2 separate regions of the Homo sapiens genome follow, and region 1 is linked to region 2. Evidence: promoter capture Hi-C in human tissues and cell types (Jung and others, 2019). All regions are on one chromosome and are shown on one strand. The core of a region is centred on a gene start or on the middle of the fragment in contact, and the rest is flanking DNA. Distances in the headings are between cores, read along the strand shown.

Region 1 (5,249 bases), core at 2,550-5,049, 76 kb after region 2:
ACCTGGTTGGATTGTGCCTTCTGGCTCCCTTGTGTTTGAGTGGGGTCATGGGATGTGTTTTGGACGATAAGTTATGGTCAGAAGTGGCGTGGGTCACTTCTGGACTAGAATATTTAGTTGGCAATGTAAAATCTTCCAGTGTCTTTCTCAGCTTCTGACAGAATGATGATCAATGTTCACAGTGGTGCCTGATCTACCATTTTGGACCCCTGATTGGTTAAAATGAGCAGCATCCTTATATTTTTCTATGGTGGATGTTTAGGGAAAATTATAATAACCTTTAGTTTTAAGATCCAACTGGAGATTGTTTATTTCCACAGTATATCCTAGCTTATCCTGACTGACAAACATGGCTTTTTCTAAGATATAAAGGGTAGCTTAGTGAGGATGCTGGACATAAGAACAGAGGAATTAAAAAGGAATGGGATCACTCAGCCCTGGAATTTGAGGTACAGTGAGCTATGATTGTGTCACTGTACTCCAGCTTGGGTGACAGAGTGAGACCCTGTCTCTTAAAAAACAGAAGGGAACCAGCCTGGCCAACATGGCAAAACCCCATCTCTACTGAAAGTACAAAACTTAGCTGGGCATGGTGGCACATGCCTGTAATTCCAGCTACTAGGGAGGCTGAGGCAGGAGAATTGTTTGAACCCAGTGGGCAGAGTTTGCAGTGAGCTGAGATCTCATCACTGCAATCTAGACTAGGCATCAGAGCAAGACTCCATCTCAAAAAAAAAAAAAAAAAAAAAGAGGGAAAAGGGGTAGGGTACTGAGAACTCATACTGTCATGACACTTTGGTGTTGGGGGGTGGAGTAAATATTCTTTTTGGATCATTCTATCTGTTCGATTGGATTGTCCTTACCCTCAAACTGAATAAGACTCACAGGGTTTTTCAGTGTTTCTAAAAAATATTCCAAAATGTATTGCCTCTGTGTGCTTGGCTGGTTTTTACTATGTGAAATGCGTTGGCCATTTCCTCATCCTTTGGAACTTCCTTTGTCAAAATTCAGTCTATTTTAAGGATAAGCTTATGTCACTTTTCCAAAAAGTTCTTTCCAATTTCCTACCAAATCCATGTGGTTTCCACTTCTGAAGACTAACAGGATTTATAACTCCTTGACTGGGACCCATTGTCAGGCATATAGAAGACGTATTTGTAGAAAAGCTTTATTTTACCATATGGAAGCTAGTCTATTGAGGATAGCTGAAGTGGTTTTCCTAAAATATGGATTCCTATCAGTACCTAGCCTGAGATTAAATATGTATTTGGTCAAAGTCATGGATAGAATCTGAGTGTTTTTCAAAAGCAGTGGCAACAAAAGCCAAAATTGACAAATGGGATCTAATTAAACTAAAGAGCTTTTGCACAGCAAAAGAAACTATCATCAGAGTGAACAGGCAACCTACAGAATGGGAGAATTTTTTTTTTTGTGATGGTGTCTCGCTCTGTTGCCCAAGCTGGAGTGCAGTGGCACGATCTCGGCTCACTGCAATGTCTGCCTCCCAAGTTCAAGCAATTCTCCTGCCTCAGCCTCCCGAGTAGCTGGGACTACAGGTGCACACCACCATGCCCGGCTAATTTTTGTTTTTGTATTTTTAGTAGAGATGGGGTTTCACTGTGTTAGCCAGGATGGACTTGATCTCCTGACCTCATGATCTGCCCGCCTCAGCCTCCCAAAGTGCTGGGATTACAGGTGTAAGCCACAGTGCCTGGCCCAAAACGGGAAAAAATTTTTGCAATCTATCCATCTGACAAAGGGCTAATATCCAGAATCTATAAGGATCTTAAACAAATTTACAAGAAAAAAAACAACCGCATCAAAAAGTGGGCGAAGGATATGAATGGACACTTCTCAAAAGAAGACATTTATGCGGCCAGCAACATATGAAGAAAAGCTCATCATCACTGGTCATTAGAGAAATGCAAATCAAAACCACATTGAGATACCATCTCATGCCAGTTAGAATGGGGATCATTAACAAGTCAGGAAACAACAGATGCTGGAGAGGATGTGGGGAAATAGGAAGGCTTTTACACTGTTGATGGGGATGTAAATTAGTTCAACCATTGTGGAAGACAGTGTGGCGATTCCTCAGGGATCTAGAACCAGAAATACCATTTGACCCAGCAATCCCATTACTGGGTATATACCCAAAGGATTATAAGTCATTCTGCTATAAAGACACATGCACACGTATGTTTATTGTGGCACTATTCACAATAGCAAAGACTTGGAACCAACCCAAATGCCCATCAATGATAGACTGGATAAAGAAAATCTGGCACATATACACCATGTAATACTATCCAGCCATTAAAAAAAGGATGAGTTCATGTGCTTTGCAGGGACATGGATGAACCTGGAAGCCATCATTCTCAGCAAACTAACTCAAGAACAGAAAACCAAACACCACATGTTCTCACTCATAAGTGGGAGTTGAACAATGAGAACACACGGACAAAGGGAGGGGAACATCACACACTGGGGCCTGCCAGGGGGTGGGGAGCTAGGAGAAGGATTGCATTAGGAGAAATACCTAATGTAGATGACAGGTTGATGGGTGCAGCAAACCACCATGGCACGTGTATACCTATGTAATGAACCTGCACGTTCTGCACATGTATCCCAGAACTTAAAGTATGTGTGTATATATATATGTGTGTGTGTGTATACATATATATATATATATATATAAAGAAACTGAGTGTTTTGCTCCCAGGTTAATTCTCTTACTGATATCCAACACCACTTTTCATGACCTCTTTGAATGCCATGTGGAAAAGGGTTAGGAAGGGAGGATAAACTGATAATAATCTTTTAGGTCATGTCCTGATTTTGACATGCCAACATTTTGTTCTTTCTATGAGTAAATTCTGTGTCTTAATTTCTTCAAACCCCTTTTCATATCTTTGTTCCTCAGGCTGTAGATGAAAGGGTTCAGCATGGGTGTCACTACTGTGTACATAACTGTGGCTACCCGGCCCTTCATCACTGAGTACATGGACAGAGGCCTAAAATAGACATAGATGACACTCCCATAGAACAGGACCACTACAGTGAGGTGGGAGCCACAGGTAGAGAAGGCCTTCCACTTCCCGGCTGCAGAGGGGATTCTGAGCACAGTGACGATGATTTGCAGGTAGGAGAAGATGGTACACAGGAAGGGGGTCACAATGACAGCTAAGGTCTCAGTCATCACCACCATCTGGCTGGAGGATGTGTCAGAGCAGGAGAGCTTTAGCACAGGCTGGGTGTCACAGAAAAAGTGCTTAATGATGTGAGAGGCACAGAAAGACAAGCGAGACATAAGTAGCACGCGGAACAGGGAATGTAGGTGGGAGATGCTGCAAGAACCCAATAGCATGAGTAGGCAATGCCATGGTTTCATAACCACATCATAGTGTAAGGGGTTGCAGATGGCCACCAGCCGGTCGATGGCCATAGAGGCCAGCAGGTAGCTGTCAGTGTTCCCAAATGCCATGAAGAAGTACATCTGGATCAGGCAGCCCACATAAGAGATAATCTTTGTCTCTGATAGAAAATTCACCAGCATCTTAGGCACTATGACTGTTGTGAAGCAGATATCCATGAAAGACAAGTTGCTGAGAAAAAAGTACATAGGGGTGTGGAGCCTGGGGTCAGAGTAGATGGCCAGGATGATGAGCACATTCCCCACCGCAGTGAGTAGGTACATGATGAGGAAGATGGCAAAGAGAGGTTTCTGCAGCTTAGGGTTGGAAGAGAGGCCCAGGAGGATGAAGCCTGAGGTGCTGCTGCTATAATTCTTTGTCTCCATGTCTCTGGACTTCCTGGATAGGGTTTAGAGAAGCAATGGGAGAGATGTAAAGGACAGTTTGACCAAGACAGCTTCTTCCCCACCTCAAATCTATTTTAAAAATCTTACTGCTATTATACTTCGAAAGAACATTTAATTCTGAAACTACATAGAAACAGATAGTAAAATTCAACAAAAGAAAAGTTAAAGGATGCCAAGCTGTCTTCTAAATTAGAAACTAAAGGTTTTCCATGTGCTCATAGGAACTTCTATGTGGCCTAATTTGTTTGAGTTCTTCTCATTTCCTTTTGTAAAGATTATTCTGAGGTTGTTTCTTGACCATCTCCTTAGTCTTATTATTGTCTTTTTTGTCCCGGGGAAGAGGTTGCTGGATTCTACTTAGAATTAGAATGCTGTCATACAAGGAATCCCTATGAATGAAGTTATCTCTTTCAGCATTCTCTCTTGCTCATAGGTCCATAGATGGTAGTAGTAGTTGGGATAGAACAAAACTAAGCAACAGAATTAATCAAGGCTCCTTGGTAATTGCAGAATTCAGATAATACTTTCTTTCATCTTCAGAAAAACATTTCTAATGTTTATTTAAGCATTTCTCTTTGGCTAATATGATCTGATGCTTTATCATCTTTTGGCCCAAGGATACCAGTTAAAATTAGAGTACTCCCAGAAATAGCCTATGTAAGCAAGATTAGTTCTTTGAATATATTAATTTTTCTGGTTAAAACACTATGAAGTCCTCATTCTCAACATTCAAATATTGCAGGACTATAAAACATAGACTGTAAGAGTCCTATTTCCACCAATATCATGGAAAGAGAAGGCAAAGATAGCCCTATGACCAATATTAAGCTACATTGCTGAGATGGTTGACTGAGTGAGTAACAAAGCAAAACTAAAGCATCAGGAGGCATAAACATTAAAAAAGAAGAAAATGTCATTTTTTTGTGGCACGATTGTGTACCAAAAAATTCAAGATAATTATTTGAAAATCTTTTAAAACCTATGGCAATTTCACCAGTGGCCAGATGCGCTATAAAACTAAAAGTATTAATTATCTTTCTGTATTAGACAAATGTAATGAAGAAAAGGTTTCAATTGATAATGGCAAGAAAGTCTAAGTGATACTTAGAAATTAACCTGAGGGACAAAATAAAAGAATGAGTAAGACCTATCAGAAGAAACTATAATAGAACACAAAATGAATATCTGAATATGTGGAGAACTATACTCCTGAAAAGGAAGACTATATTTTAAAATATGAATCCTTATTAATAAAATTCAGTGTACTTCTAATAAGACCTGAAGGGAATTTTTAATGGAAGTTGAAAAGATTATTCTAAAATTCATCTAGAGTATTACATGGCTAGAGACAGACAACATTATTTTGGAAACATTAGAATAATGATGGGAAACTTTTTTAACCCCACATAAAAGCACAGTATATTGATAA
Region 2 (5,154 bases), core at 383-2,882:
GATGTCACACCCTCCTGGATTGCCCTCGGTCTGTAGGAAATGGTGGAATGCATTCTAAATGCCTAAGAGTGATCATCAGAAGAGCATGATGTGGCAGAAGGGGTGCAGGTTTTGCTTTCTAAGAACTGTGTGAATTTGAGAAAGTCACTTCTTTTTTTTTTGAGATGGAGTCTTGCTCTGTTGCCCAGGCTGGAGCTCAGTGGCACAATCTTAGCTCACTTCAATCTTCATCTTTTGGGTTCAAGTGATTCTCTTGCCTCAGTCTCCCGAGTAGATGGGATTACAGTTGTGCGCCGCCATGCTTGGCTAATTTTGGTATTTGTAATAGAGACAGGGTTTCGCCATGTTGGCCAGGCTGATCTTGAACTCTCGACCTCAGGTGATCCACCACCTCGGCTTCTCAAAGTGCTGGGATTACAGGCGTGAGCCGCTGTGCCTGGCTGGAAAGTCACTTCTTATCTTTGAGCCTAAAGACAAATTTTCTTGTGTGTAAAACCGGATCATAATATCTGCATCCTGGGTGGCTGTGGGAATAAAATGAGATCAGGCAAGGATCTGCTTCCGGGCAGGTGCTCAGGAAATGACAGCTGTTATGATTTTTGAGCATAGCAGAGGACAGAGGGTCACGTTCAACAGTTGCCAGTGTGGGTGATGCAGTCTGTCCTCAGTGGGGTCCTGCCCTCAGGAGTCACTAGCTGAGATCCTTCGCCCAATGAGAAGGGCTCGGAGTGCCCCCTGTACATCGCGATTCCAGAGGCTGTAGATGATGGGGTTCAGCATGGGGGTGACTACAGTGTACATGACAGTGGCCACACGGCCCCACTCTGCCTCGCGTCGGGATGTGGCCTGGAAGTAGACTGCAATGACTGTCCCATAGAAGAGGCTCACCACAGCCAGGTGGGAGCCACAGGTGGACACAGCCCGGAGCCTCCCAGAGGCTGAGGGCAGCTGGAGCACGGCAGCTGCGATGGCCCCATAGGAGGCGAGGATGAGCAGGAAGGGAGTGACCACCACTGCGGCGCCCTCGGTGAAGATGAGCAGCTGGATGTGGTGGGTGTCAGAGCACGAGAGCCTTAAGAGAGGCTGGTGGTCACAGAAGAAGTGGGGCACTTGGTGGGAAGCACAGAAGGACAAGCGAGCCATGAGCAGGATATACAGGAGGGAGTGGACGTGGGACACCAGCCATGCCATTCCCACCAGGGCTGCGCACATGGCCCGGGACATCCTCGTGGCATAGGGGAGGGGGTGCCGGATGGCCACGTAGCAGTCATAGGCCATGGCCGCCAGAAGACAGCTATCAGTTACCCCCAGGGCAAAGAAGAAGTACATTTGGGTCAGGCAGCCAGCCAGCGAGATGGAGTGGTCATGGGCCAACAAGTTGGCCAACATCTTGGGCACAGTGACGGAGGCGAAGCAGAGGTCAGCAAAGGACAGGTGGGCCAGCAGGAAGTACATGGGTGCATGAAGGGCTGGACTGGCCTGGATGGCAGCCACAATGAGTCCATTACCCAGGAGGCTGGCCACATACAAGAGCAAGAACAGCACAAAGAGAGGCCGCTGCTGTCCAGGACTTGTTGTCAGTCCCAATAAAACGAATGAGATTCCCTCTGAAGACTCATTGGCAGCCTCCATGGCAGGCTGGTTATTCGCCTGGAACCTGAAGGGCTCCTTTCTATTGATGGGTCACCTCCCCGATGTCTAACGGAAAAGGTGAGGGGATAAATTGTTCAAGGCTTCCTGGCCATGGGAAAATATCAAGAGTTTAGAGTCAGGTAGCCCTGGCCCTAGGCACAGGTATGACTATGGGCAAGTCATTTCACCTCCCTGAACCTTCTTCCTTTCTGGGCCTTAGATTTTCTTTTCTTTTTTTTTTTTTTTTTTTGAGATGGAGTCTTGCTCTGTCGCCCAGGCTGGAGTGCAGTGGCACGATCTCAGCTCACTGCAAGCTCCACCTCCTGGGTTCACGCCATTCTCCTGCCTCAGCCTCCCGAGTAGCTGGGACTACAGGCGCCCGCCATCACGCCCGGCTAATTTTTTTTGTATTTTTTAGTAGAGACGGGGTTTCACCGTGTTAGCCAGGATGTTCTCGATCTCCTGACCTTGTGGGGCCTTAGACTTTCAACCTGCGAAATAAGAGAATTGAAGTAACTCATCTGCAAGGTCACGTCCAACTTTGATAGTTTGTGATTTAAGCAAAAATAGAACAAAAGATATTGCACAAGATGTAGATCAGGGAAGGAGGAAAATATGAAAGAAAAGATGAAACAGAGTGAGGTTCGACACAGAAAGATCTGGCCAATGGACATTTATTTTGGAAAAGAAAAAATGAAACCAAACCAAGATGGAGGAGAGAAACATAAGAAAGAAACTCTAGAAAAAAAATCTGAAGAGCACATATGTTTACATTGAAATGAATATGAACTCACAACACCTAGACACAAATAGTGGAATTTTAGAACACTGGAAATGAAGAGGAGACTCCAGTACTTCCTAAGGGCATGGGGTGCAATGAACTGATGATATCCATGTAATTAGATTGCCATCAAATGTTTCAATTCAACAGTAGATTATAGAACAGTTTAACAATATTCAAATTCTGAAAAAAAGCATTTCGAACTTGGAATTCTTCACTCAGCAAAAATACTACTCAAGTGTGAGTAAAGAATACAGATATTTTCAGACTTAAAACACAAAACAAGGCCGGGTGCAGTGGCTCGTGCCTGTAATCCCAGCACTTTGGGAGGCCAAGGTAGGAGGATCACCTGAGGTCAGGAGTTTGAGACCAGCCTGGCCAATGTGGTGAAACCCCATCTCTACTAAAAAAAAAAATACAAAAATTAGCCAGGTGTGGTGTCACGTGCCTGTAATCCCAGCTACTTGGGAGGCTGGGGCAGGAGAATATCTTGAACCCAGGAGGCAGAGGTTGCAGTGAGCCAAGATCGTGCCACTGCACTCCAGCCTGGGTGGCACAGTGAGACTCCATCTCACACACACACAAAAAAAGAACAAGAGAATCTGAATGACTCCTCATATCCCTGAAAACTTTCCCCATGAAATCAAACACTTACTGAGCACCAAGCAGATGCACATCACAGGGTGAGAAACTCCTGTGGACAGATGGACACATCTGCCCAGGCATAGCGACTTGACTCTTAAGGAGAGAGGCAACTTGTTTTCAATGTCTCAGTTTTTTTCCTGTCTGAATTTCATTGCAGAAATCTTGGGCAATTCTGTAAGAAGAGAATTGAAGTAACTGAGAGGAATTTTAGGGCACAGGTTTGCTGAAGACTGTGCTGAAACCACCTTTACAGGGAAATGATCTTTTAATTTATTTCCACATCTTTCTCTATTAAAAAAAAATCAATGAAGGACCTCCCTACCCTATCGTATTCCTTTTTTCCTCCATTGGTTAAGAAGAATCTCTGGCGTTAGCTTCCTCTAAAGCATCTTTTCTTAAGCCCCTAATTCTTTCTCACTTTCCTGGAGGGGAAGAGGATCAGGATGATTGGGTAGGATGGAAGGGGAAACCTGTTTATAGAATTGCTTTTGGAAAATGGACCTGCTCTGACCTGTGTCTAAATTGGTCCCAAGAAGCGTTCAAATATACAAAGATGTTTGTAGAAACATTCAAATGTAGTTGGAAACGCACATGCAGGCACGCAGACATGTGCATCCTCAAGCTGGTCTCTGCAAATACATAGGCACAATCAGTCATATACAGAAATGTGGAGCCAGCACATGCATTCACAGCAAAGTAGGCAGACAACCATTACCTCAGGATTCAGAAGCCAAGATCGTCATACACATACACACATGGCCAAATGCAATCACAAAATGGCACTAAGGCCAGAGGGTGACAATCATTCACATACTCCTCTTGATGGAGACATAGCGCCATGCACAGCTGCTGTGACCCATCATGCACATTCATGTTCTCATTGACTGCTTACTGTGTGTGAGCACTCTGCCCAGTGCCCATCCATGCATGCCCAGCCACACCCAATCCCCTCAGTGATCATACAATCACATCTTTGCACACAGCCTCACACCTTCACATACACGGCTGCACTCACGTAGGTTCATGGTGGATCATGGCAGAGATGTGCCATGCTAGAGGGGCATATGCACATACACACTGCCTCCTACCCCCTACAATGAAACGATTGTGCAGTGCTGGTAATAATCACAGCCTCGCAAACAGCACATACTCTTATACTCACACATATGACTCATGCACACAGTCACACACAGGAAGACAGATCTGCACACTCTGCAGCCTGGCCCCTTGTCCCCAGGTGTACCCTCTGGGTTCTGCACATCATAGGAACAGCAGCAGGGCCCAGGAGTGGCTTGACACTGGAGGGTCTGAGGAAGGAATGATTGGCCATGCTTATGGGGTTTACAGCCCTGAGAGCACCTTAGCTTTTCCCCAGAGGCAACAACCTCTTCTTGTGGCCTTCATCCCTGGGGCACAAGGCAGCCTGGCTGTGGGGCTTGTTATCCTTCCTCTCTAGGGACCAGTTTGATGGAGGAGGTGACTGGTGCCACCTCCAACTCGGGACATTCAGGAGCCCTGTGTACTGCAAAGCTGCTGCTCCTCAGCCCCTGCCTTGTGAAGATAAGAGAGAAGGGTCAGGCTGACCTCTGAGCCCCAAGTAGAGTGACCTGGGGATCCCAGGGTTTACAGCTGTAGCTTCTGGAGCCAACCCTCCTCTCAGCTCACCTGTCACTGTCACCTCATGGTGGCTTCTTGTAGGATGTGTGGAGTATGGGAGGAATTGTGCCCCTGGTGACTGTGGCAATCACAACTATTATCAACAATCTCAATTTGTAGAGCTGTGTTTGTGGGAGTGATTGTGTCTCTGTGCAACTCCATTTGTCCATGAGCTTGGATGTGTGTCTCAGTGTGCAGCTGCATCTGTGTCTGTGTGGGTGGCTGGACCTATGAGAGTGTTTTTTTTAACAAGGAATGTTTCTTTTTTTAAAAAATTTTACTTTAAGTTCTGGGATATATGTGCAGAATGTGCAGGTTTGTTACGCAGGTATATATGTGCCACGGCGGTTTGCTGCACCTCTCAACCTGTCATCTACATTAGATATTTCTCCTAATGCTATCCCTCTCCTACCCCCCAACCCCTGACAGGCCCTGGTGTG

Evidence for each region. The method cuts DNA at HindIII sites, captures the fragments that hold promoters and counts their contacts. A contact is called where the count stands out against the background at its distance.
Region 1: a contact is called between the fragment with the promoter of OR1L4 here and the fragment with the promoter of OR1K1 in region 2, in 3 of the 25 tissues and cell types used here (heart right ventricle, liver and mesendoderm cells).

What each region holds. Positions count from the first base shown.
Region 1 is chr9:122,722,540-122,727,788 of GRCh38, reverse strand. It overlaps OR1L4 (olfactory receptor family 1 subfamily L member 4), which reads right to left and starts at 3,799. Exons shown (of 1, transcript NM_001005235.1): 1 at 2,864-3,799. The coding sequence starts at 3,799. The coding sequence ends at 2,864. The HindIII fragment of the contact is 15,967 bases long and covers 1-5,249 here.
Region 2 is chr9:122,796,601-122,801,754 of GRCh38, reverse strand. OR1K1 (olfactory receptor family 1 subfamily K member 1) reads right to left here and starts at 1,632. Exons shown (of 1, transcript NM_080859.1): 1 at 682-1,632. The coding sequence starts at 1,632. The coding sequence ends at 682. The HindIII fragment of the contact is 19,122 bases long and covers 1-5,154 here.